Regions from separate parts of the Homo sapiens genome. Here all the other regions are linked to region 1. Evidence: promoter capture Hi-C in 16 types of primary human blood cells and fetal thymus (Javierre and others, 2016). All regions are on one chromosome and are shown on one strand. The core of a region is centred on a gene start or on the middle of the fragment in contact, and the rest is flanking DNA. Distances in the headings are between cores, read along the strand shown. Region 1 holds the start of BRD7 (bromodomain containing 7). Region 2 has its middle 55 kb from the start of CNEP1R1. Region 3 overlaps LINC02128 (long intergenic non-protein coding RNA 2128). Region 4 has its middle 7.0 kb from the start of LINC02128. Region 5 has its middle 5.8 kb from the start of LINC02168. Region 6 overlaps LINC02128 (long intergenic non-protein coding RNA 2128). Region 7 overlaps CYLD (CYLD lysine 63 deubiquitinase).

Region 1 (3,136 bases), core at 352-2,851:
CAAGGCAATGCCACAATAGAGGCCAGACCCACAGTGGGAGTTGGCATAGTGGTTCTTAAAGCAAAATAAGTTACAGACAGTGGATGAAAAGCTGAAACCAAGCTTTGCCCTATGCTTAGGGGGCCTAGGGGGCCTAGCTGGCTTGATTTCAGAGCAGCAGAAGGTCTCTTCCCCAACACAACCCCTCTTCCCACACCCTGATCTCTGCCTCACGGACACCAGAGAGGCTTGTTACAGGGAAATAATAGACACACACTTTTAGCTTTCATGAAAAAGCAACTCTCTTCATTAGAAGAACCTCATCTTCCCTGGCTAACCATAGAAGTCTGGCAGGAGCTGCCAATCACAGACTCCACTTCTCTTGGCCAAGGGGGTGAGGGGGTAGATTTGGCATCCAGGCCGAATCAATCTCCCATCCCCTGTCCCATAAAACATGTGACACAAGCCAAGCCAATCAGAGTCCTTCCCTGGGACTGTTTTCCAGGTGAAGCTGACAGGAAGAGATCTTTTTCCCAGTTGGTCAGGACACTATAAAGAAGAGGCCTCAGAAGCAGATGGTGGCCATGTTTCCAGCCATATAGGAAAGAAGGGGGGAGATGGAGACCGATATACAGAGAGACAAGAGAGAGAGCGAGCTGGCATGCCAGTCAACAGCATTACATCCTTGGTTCCTGTCTTCCCTCTGGCAAGCTTTATTCTTGCCCTTTCTAGACATGTAAACCAATAAATCCCTTTTTATTTACTTGAAATAATTCAAATTGGTTTCTATTAGTTGCCAACAATAGGGTCCTAAAATATAAGCCTATAATTTCACCACTGAAGTTCAAGGTAAAGCTACAAATCTTCCTGGGAGAGGTGATTCATGGGTCTAAATTGTTACTAAAGTATAAATGACTGATAACAGATCCTTTCTTAAGAGGAGACTATAATTACGAGCTTATCTGAAAACAGACAAAGCACCATACAGCTAGAAGTAAAGACAGTCAAAACGTCTGGTAACCTTCACCTATCAGCACATAAGTTTTTTTTAAGATTAGAATCTTCAGTCACCAATGTGCTGAGTTTGCTGGGTCTGGCACCCAGTATGGGGTTCAGTCAATATCGTAAAAGGGAAGAAACAGAAGCAAGGGAAAGTGGAAAGAAAGGAAGAGTGGGGGAAGGAGGAAGGGGAAAAAAAGAAAAGAAAAAAAGAGGGAAGGAGACGGGAAGAGGAGAAGGAAGGGTGATGAGGGAGGAAGAAAAGAGAGAAGGAAGGCTTGAAGGGAGGCAGTAAGGAGGGAAGAAAGAAAGGAAGGAAGGAGGAAGGAAGGGAAGAAGGGAAAGAGAAAGAAAGAGAGGGAGGGAGTAAAAAGAAGGGAGGGAAGTGGAGACGGAGGGAGAGACACACAGAGACAGAGACAAGACAGACAAATTGAGGGGAAAGGGAGGAAGGAAGAAAGACGAGAGTCTGAGCGGTGGATCCCGCCCCGGCCCCGCCCTCGGCCCCGCCCCCGGCCCGCGAGCTGCAGCACCACCTCCGGTCGCCAGGGGCCGCCACCCGCAGCCGCCGGCACCCTGTGCGCGCGGCGGGCCTTCTTTCCCGCCTCTGCGCCGGCCGCGCGCCCCCCCCGCCGCCGCTCTCGGGCTCCGGCCGGGTCTCGCGCGCCGTCTTCTCGAGAGGGGCATCGCGCCGCCCGGCGCGCGCCGCCCCCCTGCCTCGCGGCGCGGGGTCTCGCGGGCCCCGCTCCCGCCCTCCGCTCGCCTGGCCCGGACCGGAAGCGGCGCCGCACGGCCTGGGCCTGGCGCGGGGGGCGGGCACCGGGGCCCGGTCGGACATGGGCAAGAAGCACAAGAAGCACAAGTCGGACAAACACCTCTACGAGGGTGAGGAGGGGGCCGGGGTGCGGGCGGCGGGCCCTCGGCGGCTCTGCCGGGCTTCCGCTCTTTCCCAGTGGCTCCGGGGCGGCCCGGGGCCCTTCCTTCCCACGGCAGGCCCAGGCCGGCGAAGGGGGCGCGTCCTGCCGGAGGCCGCGCTGCCCCCCGTGCGGCCGCGGCATTCGAACCCGGGTCCCCCTGGTCCGGTGGGTCTCTGGTGGGGAGACGTGAGGCGGGCCCGGGAGGCCTGGGAGCGTTCGGGGCGGGCGGCGCCGCCGCACCCCCGGGCCGGGGTCCGTCATTCAACAGGTGCTTCGCGGAGCGCCCAAAGCCGCCTCGGGCTTGCTGCGCCTTGGCGCTCTGCATCCTTAGCACTCCCTGGAGAGCCCCGATTTTAATCGACGCGCTTTCCTTTCTTTTCTTTTCTTTTTTTAAGAGTATGTAGAGAAGCCCTTGAAGCTGGTCCTCAAAGTAGGAGGGAACGAAGTCACCGAACTCTCCACGGGCAGCTCGGGGCACGACTCCAGCCTCTTCGAAGACAAAAACGATCATGACAAACACAAGGACAGAAAGCGGAAAAAGAGAAAGAAAGGAGAGAAGCAGATTCCAGGGGAAGAAAAGGGGAGAAAACGGAGAAGAGTTAAGGTACAAGTGGTTACATTGCTTTGGCTTTGCGGACGGCACTGCCTCTTCCAGGTGCCAACCTCATTTTATTTTCTTTGTATCTGGGGAAAACAAACGCCTCTAAGATCTGGCTCGTTTGAGGAGGAGCAGGACAGAATAGAGACATGAATCATCTATGAGTTTCAGCAAGTCGTTTTTGGATTATACTCTTAGGCAATTGTACTCGCACATCAGGTGAGGAAGCAGCTAAGTCCAAATTTTGAGGAGCTGCTTCAAAGAATGGTTTTTCCATCTAGGCAGGGTAAAAAGTCATGCTCAAGAAAGCCTCAGTGTTCAAGGATTGTCAAAAATAGTCATTTCAGAAGCGAGTGGGATCTACTGGGGTTTAAAGTTTGTTCTGAAATAAATATTATAATGCCAAATCTGTAATGAGCAACTTTAAATCTTTTAAAACAGTGTTGTAGTGTGTTGAGAAAATTTGGTCAGAAACCTGTAATGGAGATTGATATTCTTAACCATTTGCATTTAACAGAAAAGAATGAGTAGCTACCATCTTGGTTTGAAAGCTGGGCAAAATAATAATTAATGGCTGGGCCCAGTAGCCCACACTTGTAATCCCAACACTTTGGAATGCCGAGGTGGGAGGATTGCTTGAGGC
Region 2 (2,963 bases), core at 290-2,789, 400 kb after region 1:
CTATAAGAGCATGTAATAATAAAAAGTGGGTTATCCATAGCAGACCCTTGAACGAAAAGGGTCTTAACAAAAATGAAAAAGGGAAGATCAAAAGCTAGGTGTCTGAGACCAGTCTGGGCAACATAGTGAGACCCTGTCTCTACAAAAAATAAAAAGATAAAATAAAAATCCCTTTTCAGAACTCTCCCACTCTCCCATTTCCCCCCACCCTTTTTTTTTTTAACTGAAATGGCTGGCCCTGGCATATTGTCCTGGACTTGTTTCTTTCACTTAACTGTGTATCATGAAGGAGTCTTCATCCTCATTGTTTGTAACCACTGCGTAGCATTCTCGAGTATGTAAATCACTTTTTTTTCTCTTTTTTAAGTTGAGACGGAGTCTCAGTCTATTGCCCAGGCTGGAATGCAGGGGTGCGATCTCGGCTCACTGCAACTTCCTCCTCCCAGGTTCAAGCTATTCTCCTGCCTCAGACTCTTGAGTAGCTGGGACTACAGGCATGCACCACCACACTTGGCTAATTTTTGTATTTTAGTAGAGACAGGGTTTCACCATATTGGCCAGGCTGGTTTGAATTCCTGACCTCAAGTGATCTGCCTGCCTCGGCCTCCCAGAGTGCTGGGATTATAGGCATGAGCCACCACACCTGGCCTCGAGTATATAAATCACTTTTGAAGGCGACTTTATTTTGTTTACTCTGGCTTTTATATTCAGCAGTGAAGTTCCTCTAAGTAACTACATGGGTAAATCAACATGGCAGTTTAAGATTCTTGCCTTAAATCTTTCTCTGTAGTTTTGGTAAAAACAGTTTTCCTTGAACTGTATTTGAATTGATTTTTATATATATGAACCTTGACAGGGCCTCTCTCTCACTTGCATTAAAGATGAGATTTGTGTCAGATTAGATTAATAATTCAGAATTGAAAAATGCTTTCCTCGACTGCGGAAGCACTTGGAAGTGTAGAATTCAGGAGTGACTGTTCATGGAGGTTAGTTCTTCTCAGTAACATTTCCTGAAGATGAGACCTGGAATACCTGCACTGTTGGGTGGTCTTCTGAAGGAGATCTTCTTAGCCTTGACCTGAAAGAAACCTAAAGGCAGAGATGGATCACAATGGCCAACACTGACTCAGGGCCCACACTGCATCAGGCACCATTCTGAGGATATTGCCTGTATTAGTTCATTCAATCTCATAATAGCACTAAGAGGTAGGGTCGATTAATAATCCCCGTGTTACAGGTGAGGAAATAGTCATGATGATGTCAAGTAACTTAATCAAGGCTACTCAGCTTGTAAGCGACAGAGCTGAGATTCAAACCCAATTGCATTGTCAACATTAGGCTGCCTTCCCTGGATGACCAGGTACTGGCTTCCCAGGCTCCTCACAGTCACCTCTAATTGTTTGGTGGTGGTGGTGTTTACCTACCACTTCATTAAAAGAAAGTGTCTATGGCCAGGTATGGTAGCTCATGCCTGTAATCCTACCACTTTGGAAGACTGAAGTGGGTGGATCACTTGAAGCCAGGAGTTTGAGACCAGCCTGGGCAACTTAGTGAGACCCCATCTCTACAAAAAATAAAAAGATTAGCTAGGTATGGTGGCGTGCACCCATACTCCCACCTGCTTGGGAGGCTAAGGTGGGAGGATCCCTTGAGCCCAGGAGTTCTGGGCTACAGTGAGTCAGGATCGCGCTACTGATCGTGCCCAGGCTGTGGGCAACAGAGCAAGAGCCTGTCTCTAAAAACAACAATGATAACAACAAAAGAAAGTGTAGAAAGTGTGAGGGAAAGCCAGCAAGAACAAAAGGCAGCAAGGGTTAGGAAAAGCAGTTGGCTTACAGAACGGCCTCTAGAATCAATGGCCGGTGTTGGTCAAAGACAAATAGACAAATGAAGCCTGCTCCGGAGAGGGAAGCATTGTGTGCAGCTCAGGATTCTCAGGGCAGTAGCGGGAGGCATGGACTCAGGCAAGAGCTTTGCTTGGAAATGTCTGTTGGGAGGCTGGCTGTGGACAGCAACCCGAATAAACATCGGAAAGGGGGGAAGCACAGGGACGAACGCTCGCAGGCAGCTTGCTGAGTAGTCATGGTTTGCGGAGTGCACTTCGGGGCCGCCTCGCCGTGCAGCCTGACGCCTCTTGCTAGATAACAGCTAATTGCTGCCCGCCAGCGTGGTTCAGTCCCTGTCAGGACATTCCTTGTGGACAGAAACATTGGTGTCTGGATCCTGGGGAGCCACAGTAAAAATGCCTGATTTAGGGTACAGCGTACATCTACTTCTCCCTTTCTTCTGTTAAATCACAGCAAAAGGGACTATTTAGACAGCTGATAGATGACCCAGCATCTGTGCACTATTTTGCATGTCTTTAGCAAGGGAAAATAGCCTGCTCACAGGCGCTGTGGAGCGTTTATAAGTAAAGGGAGCAGATCTTGTTCACTCATTCTTTACTCATATCCATATCCAATGAAGACCTTCCAAGAGGAGCATCCCCAATTTTAAAGATGAACGCTTCTGATAAAATTATCTCAAACCCTTTGGACTAAACACCTTAAAGTGTGAATATATAGCTCTAGCTATCTTTCTATCTAATCTATAACAAAGATCAGTGGCTCCATATAGCACTTTTCATCTCCATGGGCAAGAGGAAACAAATGGAAAGGGCAGAAAATCCTAGAAATTTATAAAACACTAAAATAAGAGCAGAGCAGACTATGGAGCGACATTTACCTGCAGATAGACACAGGCTTTAGTGACTATAGATTGCGCTGGGTGATCTGGTATTTGCTTTTTGGCTTTTGGGGGTACACTTAGAGGGGAAAATACATCCGCAAAATATTTGAAAAAATATTTTCATATTTTTCAGTTATGAAATTATGAATATTTTATGAAATATTGAAAAATAATTTCAATGCATATTTAACAGCATTGAGGGATTACGGGGGAAATGTGGCTGATTCTTCAAAAGG
Region 3 (3,327 bases), core at 190-2,689, 480 kb before region 1:
ATGATGATACTCCCCAAACTGATCTACAGATTCAACACAGTCCCCTTCAGAATCCCGGAAAACTTCTTTATAGAAATTGACAAGGGGATTCTAAACTTCATATAGAATTTCAAAGGACCACAGACAGCTGAAACAATCTTGGAAAAGAAGAAAGAAGGTAGACTCACACTTCCTGACTTCAAAACTTATTACAAGCAACAGTAATCAAGGACAGTGTGGTCCTGGTATAAGGACAGACATATAGATCAATGGAAGAGAATTGAGAATCTATAAGTAAACTTATACATCTATGGTCAACTGATTTTTAATAAGGGTGCCAATACCATCCAATGGGGAAAGAACAGTCTTTTCAATAAATGGTACCGGGACAACTAGATATCTACATAAAAAAGAGGGAAGTCGGACACTTACCTCACACTATATATAAAAATTTAGGCCGGGTGCAGTGGCTCACACCTGTAATCCCAGCACTTTGGGAGGCCGGGGCAGGCAGATCACCTGAGGTCAGGAGTTCGAGATCAGCCTGGCCGACATAGTTAAGCCCTATCTCTACTAAAAATACAAAAAAATCAGCTGGGCATGGTGGTGGGCACCTGTAATCCCAGATACTCGGGAGGCTGAGGCAGGAGAATCGCTGGAACCCAGGAGGCAGAGGTTGCAGTGAGCCAAGATAGTGCCACTGCATTCCAGCCTCAGTGACAGAGCGAGACTCCGTCCCCCTCCCAAAAAAAATTAACTGAAAATGGATCAAAGACCTCAATGTAAGAGCTAAAACTATAAAACTCTAAGAAGAAAACATAGGAGTAAATATTCATGACCTTGGATTTGGCAACGCCTGACCCTTCTCACTGTCAAGGAAGGCCCTGTAATAACTGTGCCCTGGCACAGTACATGACACATGGTGAGAACTGAAAGGAGATAATGTTGGTTTTCCCAACATTTGTTGGGCTAAATACATTTGTTGAATGAATTAATGAATGACTTCTCTACCCAACCCCAAGTGGAACTGAAGCCAAGCCATGCACACGCATGTGCACGCATGCACACACACACACACAATCTGTGCTATGTGCTGAACAAGGCCCTACTGAAATCCCTTTCTGTCTTCATCCTCCCTCCCCACTCCCTTCCATAGACTCCACCTGACAAGACCCAGTGCAGATGCCTGCTCTTCCTGGAAGTCTTCTCCTATCAGTCGCTGATTCACTCAACAATCAATCACTGGGCATCTGCTCTAAGCCAGGCCCTGAGCTGGGTCCTGGCAACACACAGCAGGACAGATGTGGGCCCTAAGCTTACGGCACTCACAGTTGCACAGGGGCCATGGACAGGAGCTTTGACCTTTCCTCCCAGACACATGCTCTGCTCTGAACTTTCAGGGAGGCACCACACACCACCTCCTACTGGAGCGATCAATGAAGTGGCTGATTTGCCATTTGAGTGAGGTACAAAGAGGCCTCCTGTGCCACCCAGTTTGGAGGGAGCAGAGTGGACCTCCCACCAACTCCAGGACTCCACCTGTCTTGGTTGTTCAATACTCATTTACCTATACAGGACCATTCTCGTGAAAAGTTGAAAGCTTGTTTCTCCATGACAAAAAGTCCCAAGAAAGAATGCCAACTGCTAATGCTGTTGGTAGGAACAAAGAGAATACAAGAAGGAATACAAAGAGAAGCAGTTTAAGAAAGTAAACAATGGGATAAATTAAAAGCTACAACCGATGTTAACCTGGGCTTGAGCAATGTTATGTCCACATCGCTTGAAATGGAAACAGGGAAAAGCAAATCATGAGACTGTTTCAGAAAGGGCTCCAAATATGAGCAGATAACTCATCAAATAAAAAGGAAAACTTTAGGCAAAGTTTAAAAGTGACAGAGCTTATTTTAATAACAAGATTAAATCTTTTAGTGATGGAAGCAGCACTTAGACGACCCCCTAATATTTTTCTCCTTGAGCATGGGAGATGGGGGAAGGAGACATGATACACTAGAATGTTGTATTCAAAGTGGGAGTTCTGAGAGTGTCTTGAGATCCATCCTTCCTGAAGAGGTATGGGGTCAGTGAAAACACCTGATGAACAGATATTCACAGCAGTGTTGGCTGAAGCAGCAAAGAATTGGAAAACATTCAAATGTCCAAAAAGTCAGAGCCCCTCTAAGCCATCAGGGGTGCATCTACCCCATGGAATATACGCAGCCTCTAAAATAAAGGTCTTACGTATTTGATAGAAATGTGTCCTCTTGAAAGTATTATTTTTAGAGATGGGGTCTCACTGTGTTGCCCAGACTGGTCTCAAACTCCTAGGCTCGAGTGATTCCCCCACCTCAGCCTCCCAAAGTGCTGGGATTATAGGCGTGAGCCATCATGCCTGGCCCTGGTAGTATTTGAAGTGGAGAAAAAGACAGGATACAAAATGCCGTCTGGCTGAAAATGCAACTGCAAAACATACATTCGGGAAGACAGACACAAAAGCATGGGACAAGGCCTTAATTTTAGGGGAATTGCAAATGACTTTTTTTTTGCCTTTTATTTTTATGGCTGTTGCTATGATATTGTTTGCACAATTAAAAATGCTGAAATCAAAGCCAAGCCATTTAAGAAGTTATAACTCAGATTTCTCCAGTGACATTTAAACAATCACTTACTGAGCATGGACCATCAAGTCTGTGACTGGCCCTATGATGGGGTTTTAGGATTCCAGAGACAAAAAGAGGCTGAGCACAGTGGCTCATGCCTGTATCCCAACACTATGGAAGGCCAAGGCAGAAGGATTGCTTGAGTCCAGGAGTTCAAGACCAGCCTGGGAAGCATAGTGAGATCCTGTCTCAAAAACAACAACGACAACCAAAAAAAAAAAAAAAAAACCAGCCAGGCGTGGTGGTGCACACCTCCTATAGAACCAGCTACTCAGGAGGCTGAGGTGGAAGGATCACTTAAGCCCAGGAGTTCGAGGTTTCAATGAGCAATCACACCACTGCACTCCAGCCTGGGTGACAAAGAAAGAACCTGTCTCTAATTTAAAAGGAGAGAGAGAGACAGAGAGAGAGAGAGACATGGATCCTGTGCTTAAAGAACTCACAGTAAGGGATGGGAAGAGGAGGTAGAACCTGAACAGATCATCACAACATGGTAGAAAGGCTTTGAGCAAGATGGTCACAGAAAATAGGAAGGATAATGTTAAGAACGACAGTGATGGTAACAATGTCCAACATTCTTGTAGTGCTGTATGAGGCAGAATAAACCAGGTTATGCTGCAGTAACAAGCCCACAATTTTCGTGGCTTAAAACAGCCAAGTTTTATTTCTTGCTCATGCTACTTGTTCATTG
Region 4 (3,194 bases), core at 617-3,116, 460 kb before region 1:
CAACTCTCTCCTTCTGCCTATGACAACCTCAAGTTCCATCTCACAGGGAACACAGAAGGAACAAATGGAAGCACAGTTCATTTCCTGCCACCAAACCTGGGAACACACCTACACCTATGCCTGCTCTTGACCTGTCCTGCCTGTCCTAAGCTAGCCCACCACCTGAACTTCAAGTCCTCATGTTCTCCCAGGGACTTCGCTGCAGCCATTGTCACCTCTTCTCTGCATCTTCAACCTCCCTTTTCCCCTACTGGCCACCACATCACCATGGAAACATGGCTAAGACTCTCCTGACTTAAGAAAAATGAGTACACAAGATGATAGACTCAGGAGGACAACACAGGCCTAGCCAGCTACCTGTCCTCCTGCCCCAATTCCTCAAAAGAAAAGCCATATTTAAAAGACAAAATGAATCTATAACCACATGTGGAAAAACAAGAACTTGTCTGCAATTCCTGGAAGATGGAAAGCAGATGGGACTGGGTTGGCAGGATTGGCGGAAACCACAGCCAACCACTATGGCCAGAGCTACTGAGGAAGTAAGAGAAGATCCAGGGTACTTGGGTTCAGAGTAAACAAATACAAAGAGGAGGGGGTGGAGCGATTGGCAGAGAAATTAGCAAAATAACTGTGTTCAGAATTGGTTTTCATTGGAACCAATGGAGCCGACACCCACCCCCATACCCAAACAGGAGACTGCAGCAGCATTTAGCTCCAGGTCCAGGTCAAAACTGAAGGATTGCACAGTAAAAAAAGGGAACCCGCATCTGCAATCAGTTTTATCCACTGATTTGCCACAGTGAGGTACAGGCACCTTCATTCAGGAGCAAGAAACATTTCTTTTTCTCCACGCATAAACAATCCTGTTATGATGTAAGTACAATCCCAGAAACCCTCTAGTCTCATTCACAATGAAAACAAAAAATATATATAAAATACCTAGGAATAAACCTACCAAGAAACGTTCAGGACCTATGTGAAGAAAACTATAAAAATTTACTGTGGGACATAAAAGAAGACCTGAATAAATGGAAAGGCATAACCAAACACCTGGATGGAAACACTCAATATTGTAAAAATGTCAAATCCCCTCAAATTAAACTATAAATTCAATACCATCCCAACCACTATCCCTACAGGATTTTTTATGAAACTGGGCAAGTCGACACTAAAATTCATTTGAAAAAGAAAATTCAAGAGAATAGACAAGAAAAATTTGAAAAAGAAAAACAAGTGTTTGCATATTCTACCAAATTTTAAAAGAGACCATTAAGTGGATACAAGAACATGAAGCTGATAAGACCAGGCAAAGAAATCAAAGAAGCAGAATAGAAAGTCTAGAATGGAAGGCTATTTATAGGAAAAATCAAGAAAATTATGGTGTTTCCGATACATGAGATTGTGACATCTGGAGTTCCATTGGAAAACAGAAAGAAAACGTTGGATCCCTACCTCACATCATATATAAAAGTAAGTTCCTACTGGATTAAGAAGCTAAATGTAAAAGACAAATCCAGAAAAGTATTAGAACACAACACCACATGTGCATTTGAATGATGTGATTTTGAAACTACGTAATATAAAAATAATAATGTCCTCATGTTACATACAAAATGTGAAATCCTCCCAAATGGGGGGATTGACAACTCATCAAGAATTGCATAACTTGGCAACTCATCAAGAATTCCATAACTTTCAAACTGGTAGGCTGGTGAGTTGAAACTGCATTTCCAAGTGCAACATGGCAATGCCTCTAGCTGGTGAAAAGAAGGACGTGCTGTCCTTTGTCATTATTGTGTGACCCATGCTATTGTTCCCCTATCACAACTTCCAACAGTATCTTTGGTGACTAGTGCATATTATCTTTAACATTAACTGATCTTGTGATTCAAAATATTTTGTAATCTTCTAGGAACATTATCCAAGCATTGATTCAAGGGTCGTGGTTGTGCTAGAGTTTGTGCTAAGAAAAGGAATAAAATAGGCCAGGCGCAGTGGCTCCCAGCACTTTGGGATGCCGAGGTGGGTGGATCACAAGGTCAGGAGATGGAGACCATCCTGGCTAACACAGTGGAACCCTGTCTCTACTAAAAGTACAAAAAATTAGCCAGGTGTGGTGGCACACACCTGTAATCTCAGCTATTCGGGAGGCTGAGGTAGGAGAATCGCTTGAACCCAGGAGGCAGAGGTTGCAGTGAGCCAAGATTGTGCCACTGCACTCCAGCCTGGGTGACAGAGAGACACTCCGTCTCAAAAAAAAAAAAAAGAATAAAATAAAATAACCACCTAAAAATCAATAGCTCTGGGCCAGAGAAGGGAAAGGATAAAGTTATTCTGAAGAAGGCCAAACATCACCATGGTGTGTCACTAATTTAGAAGTGCATGCTCTGTAAAAATGTCAGAAACATTGCTGAAAAAAATTACTATCATTATAGGTATGTGGCATTCCAAGAATATAAAATTGCCACTTACCACCTCATGGAGAAAGAACTTGTGAATTATGGAGGCTATGAATTACCTGGGGTCTGTAGGATGCTGTTTTTCCCCTCCCAGATCGCCTTTCTGGACTCCAGTGAGTTTGCACCAGCTGCACCCTTCCCTGGAGAATTGCCTTCAGCTCATGACAGGGACCATGACCTGGAAGTTGGACCCCAACACACAGCAAGGGCAGCCCACAGCTAATGACTGACTGATCAATGTGATTCAGAGCTTCAGGGCTCTTATCACCATGGCTCAGACCAAGACTGGGCTTTGCTTGAGGTTTGCTTCCTTGTTCTGCTCTCTCCCTTGTCTTATTGTGCCTAATTCCCTCCCTTACAGGATTTTCCTGAAAAACTCCCCTGATTAATCATGTGCTCCTTGAATTCCTTTCTCAAGCTCTGCTTTTAGGGAACCCAAGCTAATATATTTGGCACCAGGAGTGATCCTAGGAAATAGATGAGAAGGATAGGATTCTGAAGTCCCTAGATGGCTAGAAATCATAGCCCCATCACCGGTGCTTAGTGTACAGTGGTAAATGGCAGGCAGTGATTGTTGCTAAGATTCTACCTGTAATACACCCAGGGCATGGGATACAGGTGGAAAAGGTGCACTGCCCTGTGCAAGAGCTTTGATGTTTGAGAGGTATGGGAAAAAGAGTTCTTATAAAGACTGTAGAATTGGGTGCCCACCAGTGAATGCCAATCATGCCTTAA
Region 5 (2,941 bases), core at 100-2,599, 440 kb before region 1:
GAATGCCTTAACCTGCTGGGAATGCAGCCCAGTAGGTCTCAGCCTCATTTTACCCAGCCCTTATTCAAGATGGAGCTGCTCTGGCTTAAACGCGTCTGGCACATACAGAGTTAAAAAAAAGAAAAGTTGCCAGATTTGTACAGATCAGGAACTTTTGCTTCTCTTAGAAATTTCTGACTTCGTCTGAAAAATCAGAACATAGGCCAGGTGCGGTGGCTTACGCCTGTAATCCCAGCACTTTGGGAGGCCGAGGCGGGTGGATCACGAGGTCGGGAGTTCAAGACAAGCCTGGCTAAGATGGCGAAACCCTGTCTCTATTAAAAATACAAAAAAATTAGCCAGGCATGGTGGCACTCACTGCTACGCAGGAGGCTGAGGCAGAGAACTGCTTGACCCCGGGAGGTGGAGGTTGCAGTGAGCTGAGATCGCACCACTGCACTCCAGCCTGGGCAGCAGAGCGAGACTCCGTCTCAAAAAAAAAAAAAAAAATCAGAATATACTGGCCTGCTTCTTCCTTTCCTTTACCATATCAGCTCTCCACCAACACTCCAACCTTCTCCCTTCCCTAAGGTACCTGCCTGGCCCCTGTAGGCAAGTGAGCTTGAGAGTCCCAGTCTAGGATCCTTCATTTTACAGATAGAGGGACTGCGGTTCATAGACAGACATCTTGCCAAGGATCATGGAGTGACCAGAGTCCAGTAGCTTGGGTATGACTGGTTTCACAGAGCACCCAGCTCGAACTGGTGGCCCCCAGCGAGGTGGATCGGCCCCTGAGTGGGCACTGTCCCTGCCTGGCTCTAGCCAAGGCCTGGAGGGAAGAGACTGCCCATAGTGAACCAAAGCTCAAGGCTCAAGGGCTCCTAGACAGTGGGGATGAAAATGAGCCAACACCATGCACTGGACGTTTGCCATTGAAAGCAACAGGCTGAACTGGGTAATTCTAGATGATCCAGATGTGGGTGAAGGAAATTCTTCTGTGGCATGCCAAGGAGAAAGGGACTGGAAAAGTCTTCCCGCCCAAAATAGCATGGTGCAAAAAGCACCCAGCTTGGAAATGCCCATGTGAAATGGCCGGTGGCCGCGCAGCTTCCTGAGAATCATTCAGTCTCCCGACAAATATGGGAGGAGGCCACAGTTGGTGCCCCCTGTTCTGGTTGCTGATGAGACAGGGACAATGTGGTTTTCACCCTCTGGGGGACCCACTGCCGAGCTGACAGATGAGTATAAAGCATTGCGCAAATGCAAGGACTCCTGGAGGGGGTGTGGGGACCGTGGGCACCTCGGGCTCACGTAGAAGGAGCTGAGACTTCGTCTCTACTCAGGCAAGTGCCTGGGAATATGGCTTTTGTATAGGGACAGGCTTGACTTCCTCCTGAGTGTGTCCACCTGAGGCAGGAGGTGGCAGGTTGGTGAGGAGGGAGAGGTGGGGATGGTGCAGGCCTAAGGCCTGGAAGAGCACTGGGGAGCCGCTGAGGGACAGGGTGGAATCAGGAGCTAGAGCCCTCTTGGCTGCAGAGTGTACGGCTGAGGCCACCAGCCCTGCCAGACTGTGGAATCCTCACAGTTCAGGAAGCCCAAGGAAGATTGGTGTTTGAGTCACTTAAGGAAGGCCTGGTGTGCATGGCAGGAAGAGGCTCCTCTCCACCCAGGAAAGCCTGCAGAGCTCGGACCAAGCGCCAGCCCCAGGCGCTGGGCCTCCCTAGTCAGAGCCTCGAGCTGCCCTACAATGTCCCAGGGTGAAATGGCCCCCCGTGAACACGGACTTCCCATGCTGGGGTTCTGTTCCAGCTCTGCCTCTAACTCTGCCCGTGGGTGCAGCCCTGCCTCCCTAGGCAGCAGCCTTTAAAGTTGGAGAACTTTAGAAAATTCTCCAACTTTAAAAAGAAAGATTGAGCTGGGACTGGGAGGCTGAGATGGGAGGGTTGCTTGAGCCCAGGTTTTCCAGCCTGGGCAACATAGTGAGACAGACCCTCTTGCTAATGAATTAAAGAAAGAAAAAGAGAGAGAGAGAAAGAGAGGGAGAAGGGGTGGACCCATCTCAATGGCTCCAGTGACTGAGGTCCTTGATGCTAATGGTAGTCCAGACTAGCTTTCTACTTTCTACACTGCTTTCTGGGCTGACTTTCAGTCTTTTTCTCGACCCTGTGCTGAGCCTGGGTTTTATCAAAAAAAGGAGAAAACACACAGGCACATGCACCTTGAGCTGGAGGTGACTACTCCAAGTCACTGAACTTCAACACTACAGAAAGTTTGTCAGATCCCAGAGTGGTGGCTCATGCCTGTAATAGAGCTTCCGGATGCCCAGGCAGGAGGATCACTTGAGGTCAGGAATTCAAGACCAGCCTGGGCAACATAACAAGATCACCTTCTCTACGAAAAATTTTTAAAATTGGCTGGGCATGGTGGTGCATGCCTGTAGTCCCAGATACTTGGGAGGCTGAGGCAGGAGGATCGCTTGAGCCCAGGAGTTCGAGACTAGCTTGGGCAACATAGTGAGATCCTGGTCTCATAAAAAATAAATTCATGAATGTGTCAAAACTCATCTAACTGCTTACTTAAAATATGTGTATGTTACTGTATGTAAATTACACCTCAGTGGAGTTGGTTAAAAAATAATAATGAAAGAAGGAAGGAGTGTAAACTTTGGAAAAGTCTGCAGCTGTCTCTCCTAAAGCTAAAATCCACCAATTCAAGAAGGATCACAGTAGGGTCATGTGTAGTAGCCCCAAACTGTCAGCAATGCCCCTTTCCATCAGTATGAGAACCATAAATAAACGATTGTATATTTACGTAAGAGAGCATCACATAGCTATGAAGTAGAATCACTGACATACACAACAGAGACAGTCTGAAGGATGCACACAGCATGACATCAGACACTACCTGAAGTGTGCACGATCTATGACTCCCTTTACATAAGTTCAAAACCTGGCAACAGGGA
Region 6 (3,319 bases), core at 590-3,089, 500 kb before region 1:
CATCTTGTGTTTATAGATTTGAAGAGTTAAAATAGTTAAAATGTCAATATTACCCAAAGTAATCTACAGATTCAATGCAATCCCTATCAAAACCCCAATGGCCTTTTATGCAAAAAACGAAAAACCTGACTTAAAATTCATGTGGAATTGCAAGGAACCCCGAATAACCAGAAAATCCTGAAAAAGAATAATACATTTGTAATATTCATGTTTCCTGTTTTCAAAACTCACCACAAAGTCATAGATCAAAATAGAGTGGTACTGCCATAGGATACATGTATAGGTCAATAGAATAGAATTGAGAATGGTCTATAATCAAAACATGAAAATAAAACCACTACATCTATGGTCAATTGTTTTGACAAGGGTGCCAACCAAGATCATTCGATGGGAAAAAGCATAGAGTTTTCAACAAGTATGCTGAATGACTGCATATCTGCAAGCAAAAGAATTCAGTTGGACCCTTGCTTCACACGTTATACAAAAATTACCTCAAAATAGATCAAAGACCTAAATGTAAAAGCTAAAACAATAATACTCTCAGAAGAAAACGTAAGGCTAAGTCTTCATGACTTTGAATTTGGCAATGGCTTTTTAGATATAATACCGAAAACACAAGCAACAAAAGAAAAAAATGGATAAATTGGAATTAATCAAAATTAGAAACTTTTCTGCATCAAAGAACACTATCAAGAGAGCGATAAAAAATCTTAAAAATTAAAGAAAATATTTGCAAATAATATATCTGCTAAGTATAGTATCTAATATGTATTATCTTATAACTCAACAAGCAAAAGACAATTCAATCAAAATGTGGGAAAAGGACTTGAATAATCATTTTCTTAGGAAGATATAGAAAATCCCAAGAAGCACATGAAATAATGTTCAATGGCATTAATCATAAACAAAATGCAAATCAAAACTACAATGAGTTATCCCTAGGTTGGCTATAATAAAACAAATGGAAAATAACAAGTTTTGGTGAGAATGTGGAGAATGTGAAGCCCTCATGAACTGCTGGTGGAAATGTAAAATGGTGCAGCCACTTTGGAAAGCAGTTTGGCAGTTCTTCAATAAGTTAAGCATCGAATTACCGTCTGACCCAGCCCGTCCACTCCTAGGTGTATACCCAAGAGAATTGGAAATAGGTTTTCAAACAAAAGCTTGTACACAAATGTTCATAGTAGCAATATTCACAATAGACAAAAGGTAAAAATACCCAAATGTTCATCAATTGATGAATAAATAAACAAAATATGGGATATTCATATAATGGGATATTACTCAACCACAAAAGGTAATATAGTCCTGATACAAGTTACAACATTGATACATGTCTTAAACATTATGATGCTAAGTGAGAGAACTAGGCACAAAAGCCATATACTGTATAATTCATTTGTATGAAATATCTAGGATATAAAGACAGATCCATAGGTTCAGAAAACATATTACTGGTTGCTACAGGACAAAAGGCAGAAAAGGATTAGGAGTTGTTATATAGGATTTTCTTTGGGGTTGGTGAAAATGATCTTGAACTAGATCATGGTGATGGTTGCAAAACATTATGCAAATTCTAAATGCCACTGAATTGTACACTTTAAGATAGTTAAAATGGTGAATTTTATGTTATGTTCATTTTACCACAATAAAAAGATAAGATACCACAAAAAATCTAGATGCCAATATTATAATAAAAGAAAATTGCACAATATGTACAATCTCCCTCGTATCCATAAGTTCAAATCATTAACAAAATATTAACAAATAGAATACAGCAATATATAAAAAGGATAATACATTATGTCAACAAAATGAAATGTATTTCTGCATGCAAGATTCATTTTATATTTGAAAGGCAAGCCATGTAATTTACCACATTAACAAAATAGAGGAAAAACTATATGATCATCTTAATAGATTCATAAAAATCATTTAACAAATTTAACACCCACTCAAAAGCTAGCAAGAAACTAGAAATAGAAGAAAACTTTCCTCTACGTAATAAAAGGAAACTAAAAACAAACAAACCTACAATAAGGATCATACTTATGACAAAATATTTAATACTTCCTTGCAGAGATCGAGAACAAGGCAAGTATGTCTCTTCTAAGTATTTCTATTCAGTATGTATTGGGGATTTTTGTCAGTGCAATGGAGGTAAGAAAAAGAATTTATTTAGCAACATCTTTCGTCCTAAAATATCGTGTGTGTGTGTGTGTGTGTGTGTGTGTGTGTGTGTGTGTATTAGCCATATCACCATGAATATGCCCTATCTCATCTGATCTTATGAACCTAAGCAGGGTCAGGCCTGGTTAGTGCTTGGATGGGAGACTTCAAGGGAATACCGGGTGCTGTAGGCTTAAAAAACATTTTTTTTTAAAGAAGAGGAAAACTAATTGAAAGCCATAAATATCAAGAAGAAATAGTTACATTTATTTCTAGATTACATTATTATTATTGACTAAATATTTATGTCTCCTCCTCAGGAGGAGGAGGCTATGTTGAAGCTTCAACCCCCCAATGTGATAGTATTAGGAGGTGAGACTTTTGTGAGGTAATTAGATTTAGATGAGCTCAGGACGGTGAAGCCCTTATGATGGGATTAGTACCCATATAAGTACTGCCACCACTTCTTAGAGGAAGAAATATCAGTGTCCTCTCTCTGCCATGTGAAGCTACAAAGAGAAGGTAGTCATTTGCAAGCCAGAAAGAGGGCCCTCACCAAGAACCAAATCTGGTGATACAGTTACCAGCCTCCAGAACTGAGAAATAAATGTCTAGGTTTTCTTGTTTTTGTTTTTGTTTTTGTTTGACGGAGTCTTGCTCTGTTGCCCAGGCTGGAAGGCAGTGGCACCATCTTGGCTCACTGCAACCTCTGCCTGCCAGGTTCAAGCAATTCTCCCACTCAGCTTCTTGAGTAGCTGGGATTATAGAGGTGCACCACCATGCCTGGCTAATTTTTGCATTTTTAGTAGAGACAGGGTTTCAACATGTTGACCAGGCTAGCCTTGAACTCCTGACCTCAGGTGATCCACTCACCTTGGCCTCCCAAAGTGCTGGCCTTACAGGCCTGAGCCATGGCACCCAGCCAATGTCTGTTGTTTGAGCCACCCAGTTTATGGTATTTTGTTTTGACAGCCTGAGCTGCCTTAGACAATGATTGTTTAGATAGAAAAATCCTAAGCAACCTACCAAAAATACTATTCAAACTAAGAGGTGGATTGAATAAGATTGCAGGAAACAAGGTTAATATACAAAAAACAATTATATTTGTATATAATAGTAAATAAAATACTACTATTGTAAATAAATTTAA
Region 7 (3,077 bases), core at 38-2,537, 410 kb before region 1:
TGTTAACATCCCATATTAACTTCCTAATTCTTATCATATGGCTACAGAACTGGCAGGCTACTCTCAATTTAGCCCAGTCTACAATCCTCAGAGCCTAAAGATTCTTGGTTCAATTTCCAGAGCTTAAAGATCCTTGCAATGTTAAGGCTGGGCGTGGTGGCTCATGCCCGTAATCCCAAGCACTTTGGGAGGCCAAGGCGGGTAGATCATTTGAGGTGAGACGTTCGAGACCAGCCTGGCCAACGTGGTGAAACCCCCGTCTCTACTGAAAATACAAAAAAGAAAGTTAGCCAGAAGTGGTGGTTCACACCTGTAATCCCAGCTACTCAGGAGGCTGAGTCAAGAGAATCGCTTGAACCTGGGAGGCAGAGGTTGCAATGAGCCCAGATTGTGCCGCTGCATTCCAGCCTGGGGGACAGAGTGAGACTCTGTCTCAAAAAAAAAAAAAAAAAAAAAAAAAATCTTAAGTTGTTCCACTTTGGAAAAAATTGCATATATGAGGGCAGCAGTGCTGCTACTGAAAATCGTTTTTTTAAAGACAGTAGTTTTATGACTGCCTTTACCTACTAAAAGAAATACAGCACATAACAGCCAATGGCTTTACTGCAAGTTATGTTGTTTGAGACATGCACAAAGATTTCCCAGATACCCTCTGTATATCTATTCCATTGTACCAATATCATTCACCTTTCTGGACACAGAAACATGAGACAACATTCAAAAGCTTAAAAGGAGTATGTCATAAAAAGCAAATCTCCCTTTCAATCCTGACCCACAGTCATCCAGTTTCTCTACTCAGAGGCAGATGGCAGTTTCTTTCACACACACTCACACGCACACACACACACACACCGGTATGTGTCCCTGCCTCATGGCACTATCTATACCTATTGCATTCTTTTTAAACTTACCAGAATAAGGTTGAGTCTAAGTAACAAGAATTGTAATGACCCTGGATGCCTTTCTTCTTCCCAATCATTATCTCCAAGCCTTCTTTTTCCATTTTTGGTGGAGTATTTTCTTCTACTACTTCACTTAAGTAGCCTCCAAATGCTGAAAAGATTTTTTTAAAAAAAGTAAATGAAAAGAATTCTTTTAAACTATTACAATATGTATTCCCATAAATATTTTTTCATTTTAAAATGTTTTTGTATTTTGATGCAAAATTTTTTCTTTAAGTGGAAAGTAGGCTTTGGTTAACTGCTATTTGACTTGGCTTATAAAAATTGCTATTGTTCATTTTCAACTTCATTTCCTCCAAGATTTAAAAACACACTTTAGAGTATTATGTGTAAAAAGCATCTGTCAAGTAAAATATGTTTCCCAAATATTTCACTATTTATCTGAAGTTGCTTCACTTTCAAGTTTGAAAAGAAAATGAAAATTCCAAAGTACTATTTCAACATAATAAGAGTGTTTTTCATAAAGATGGCTTTCCTGTTTGCACCTGCTGAAGCCCCAAGATGCTTTTCCACTATTATGTAGAAGTGGAAAGGAACAGCACCAGGAAACTGCCACCAATTACACATGATGAGGAGAGCTGTCCTCCAGCAATCAGTTGAAATCTACTTCTTACACTAAAATGCTGATTTCTTTGTAAGATACACTCACTGCTGTAAACAAGACACTGTGAGGGAAGTCAGTAAAAAAAAAAAAGAAGGTTACATTTCAATTTCTACCACTAGTATTGCTGAAAACTAAATGTCTGTCATCAACAGGAAGAGAAAAACAAACCACACTATTATTCACTTTATAAGTCCCAAACGCACGTCCTAATACTTTTTTAAGATGTCCCCTCTTAAAACAACTTTCTTATACACCATGCAACATTTTTACTGATTTAAAGCTTAATGAGCGTTGGCAAGAAATATATTAAAACACTGTCACCATCACCTAATATAACATGATATGAGATTAGAATTAGAGTCATTCCAGGTTGTTAAGTAAACAAAAAGCATCCAAATACCTAAAGAGTTACAGCGCTCAATCTGATTGGAAACCGGCTGCAATGATGCAAACCTAGAGTCAGGCCTGCAGCTCTTCAGTTTCACAAACAGCGCCTTCTTCAGGGCACAGGTGAAATACCGAGTGCCTCTGAAGGTTCCATCCGTACAGCCTGCACACTCATCTTCCTGAAAAAGAAATGCTTCAATATGCATTATACCGTGCCTTACAGAGATAGTATACAAAGAACTAAGGTTTCTAAGACCTGTTTCTAGTATACCCTTTCTCACCACTCCCTCTTCGCACCTGTACTGAGAACCTCATCAAGAAAAAGGAGTTGAGTAATCAGTGCTTCAGCCCACAGCTACTGATTTAAGAAGTGACTTCCTTAATCCAGCATGAAGTCCTTCTTGTATTTCCTTTCAGAATATATGCTTCAACCTCCCCTGGTTAAACGGGCTTTCCCGCACCATTTCTACAAGCATTAAAACAGGCAGGGAAGGAGAAGGCTATTTATTTTAACCCTCATTCTTGCCTCCCCACCATGCCCCATAAGATAGTATTCACTAGCATGGAAACAAACAAGAAAAAAAAAAAAAGAAATATATTTAAATTGGCCAGGTGTGGTGGCTCATGCCCATAATCCTAGCACTTTAGGAGGCCAAGGCGGGCAGATCACTTGAGTCCAGGAGTTTGAGACCAGCCTGGGCAACATGGCAAAACCCTGTCTCTACTAAAAATACAAAAAATTACCAAGCATGATGGTACATGTCTGTAATTCCAGCTACTCAGGTGACTGAGGCAGGAGAATAGCTTGAGCCCAGGAGGTCGAGGCTGCAGTGAGCCCTGACCGTGCTACTGCACTCCAGTCTGGGTGACAGAGTGAGACCCCATCTCTAAATAAATCCTAAACATACTCAACTTCTCCTTTCCTGATTACAAAATATCAAATGATATGTTCTCCTGATCTCTAAAGGGAAAACCTTTCCCTCTAGCAAAGGTCTCAAAAGATCTCTAAAAATGGTGATTAACTTTAAAGCCAGTGATATAATTATTAGAACTGACCAGGGGAAGGGGCTGAAGAAGAAAGAGAAAAGCTGATGGCAAATTTGCTTGATTTACTAAATTCTGTT

The links. Contacts are between HindIII fragments. The CHiCAGO score rates a contact against its expected background, and 5 or more counts as called.
Region 2: a contact is called between a fragment that was not itself captured here and the fragment with the promoter of BRD7 in region 1, in 5 of 17 cell types (neutrophils, monocytes, erythroblasts and 2 more). The highest score is 9.8, in neutrophils.
Region 3: a fragment that was not itself captured here is called in contact with the fragment with the promoter of BRD7 in region 1 in 3 of 17 cell types (non-activated CD4 T cells, activated CD4 T cells and total CD4 T cells); the score reaches 8.3 in non-activated CD4 T cells.
Region 4: a fragment that was not itself captured here is called in contact with the fragment with the promoter of BRD7 in region 1 in 10 of 17 cell types (non-activated CD4 T cells, total CD4 T cells, activated CD4 T cells and 7 more); the score reaches 20.0 in non-activated CD4 T cells.
Region 5: a contact is called between a fragment that was not itself captured here and the fragment with the promoter of BRD7 in region 1, in 16 of 17 cell types (total CD4 T cells, non-activated CD4 T cells, total CD8 T cells and 13 more). The highest score is 43.2, in total CD4 T cells.
Region 6: a fragment that was not itself captured here is called in contact with the fragment with the promoter of BRD7 in region 1 in 1 of 17 cell types (total CD4 T cells); the score reaches 5.9 in total CD4 T cells.
Region 7: a fragment that was not itself captured here is called in contact with the fragment with the promoter of BRD7 in region 1 in 17 of 17 cell types (non-activated CD4 T cells, naive CD8 T cells, total CD4 T cells and 14 more); the score reaches 40.0 in non-activated CD4 T cells.

Annotation. Positions count from the first base shown.
Region 1 is chr16:50,367,453-50,370,588 of GRCh38, reverse strand. BRD7 (bromodomain containing 7) reads left to right here and starts at 1,601. Exons shown (of 17, transcript NM_013263.5): 1 at 1,601-1,863; 2 at 2,291-2,499. The coding sequence starts at 1,815. RefSeq lists silencers at 1,423-1,672, 1,703-2,212. The HindIII fragment of the contact is 8,339 bases long and covers 693-3,136 here.
Region 2 is chr16:49,968,687-49,971,649 of GRCh38, reverse strand. It overlaps the pseudogene NCOA5LP. Among named protein-coding and RNA genes, the nearest start is that of CNEP1R1, 55 kb to the left of the region's middle. The HindIII fragment of the contact is 3,968 bases long and covers 1-2,963 here.
Region 3 is chr16:50,847,379-50,850,705 of GRCh38, reverse strand. All of the region lies in intron 1 of LINC02128 (long intergenic non-protein coding RNA 2128), which reads right to left. Among named protein-coding and RNA genes, the nearest start is that of LINC02128, 9.0 kb to the right of the region's middle. The HindIII fragment of the contact is 285 bases long and covers 1,297-1,581 here.
Region 4 is chr16:50,831,412-50,834,605 of GRCh38, reverse strand. No RefSeq gene overlaps it. Among named protein-coding and RNA genes, the nearest start is that of LINC02128, 7.0 kb to the left of the region's middle. The HindIII fragment of the contact is 4,131 bases long and covers 1-3,194 here.
Region 5 is chr16:50,811,045-50,813,985 of GRCh38, reverse strand. No RefSeq gene overlaps it. Among named protein-coding and RNA genes, the nearest start is that of LINC02168, 5.8 kb to the right of the region's middle. The HindIII fragment of the contact is 5,044 bases long and covers 1-2,941 here.
Region 6 is chr16:50,868,499-50,871,817 of GRCh38, reverse strand. The region is part of intron 1 of LINC02128 (long intergenic non-protein coding RNA 2128); the gene reads right to left. It also overlaps the pseudogene RNA5SP426. Among named protein-coding and RNA genes, the nearest start is that of LINC02128, 30 kb to the right of the region's middle. The HindIII fragment of the contact is 1,347 bases long and covers 1,166-2,512 here.
Region 7 is chr16:50,780,301-50,783,377 of GRCh38, reverse strand. CYLD (CYLD lysine 63 deubiquitinase) reads right to left here. Exons shown (of 19, transcript NM_001378743.1): 10 at 1,967-2,132; 11 at 912-1,053. Among named protein-coding and RNA genes, the nearest start is that of CYLD-AS2, 22 kb to the left of the region's middle. The HindIII fragment of the contact is 1,122 bases long and covers 727-1,848 here.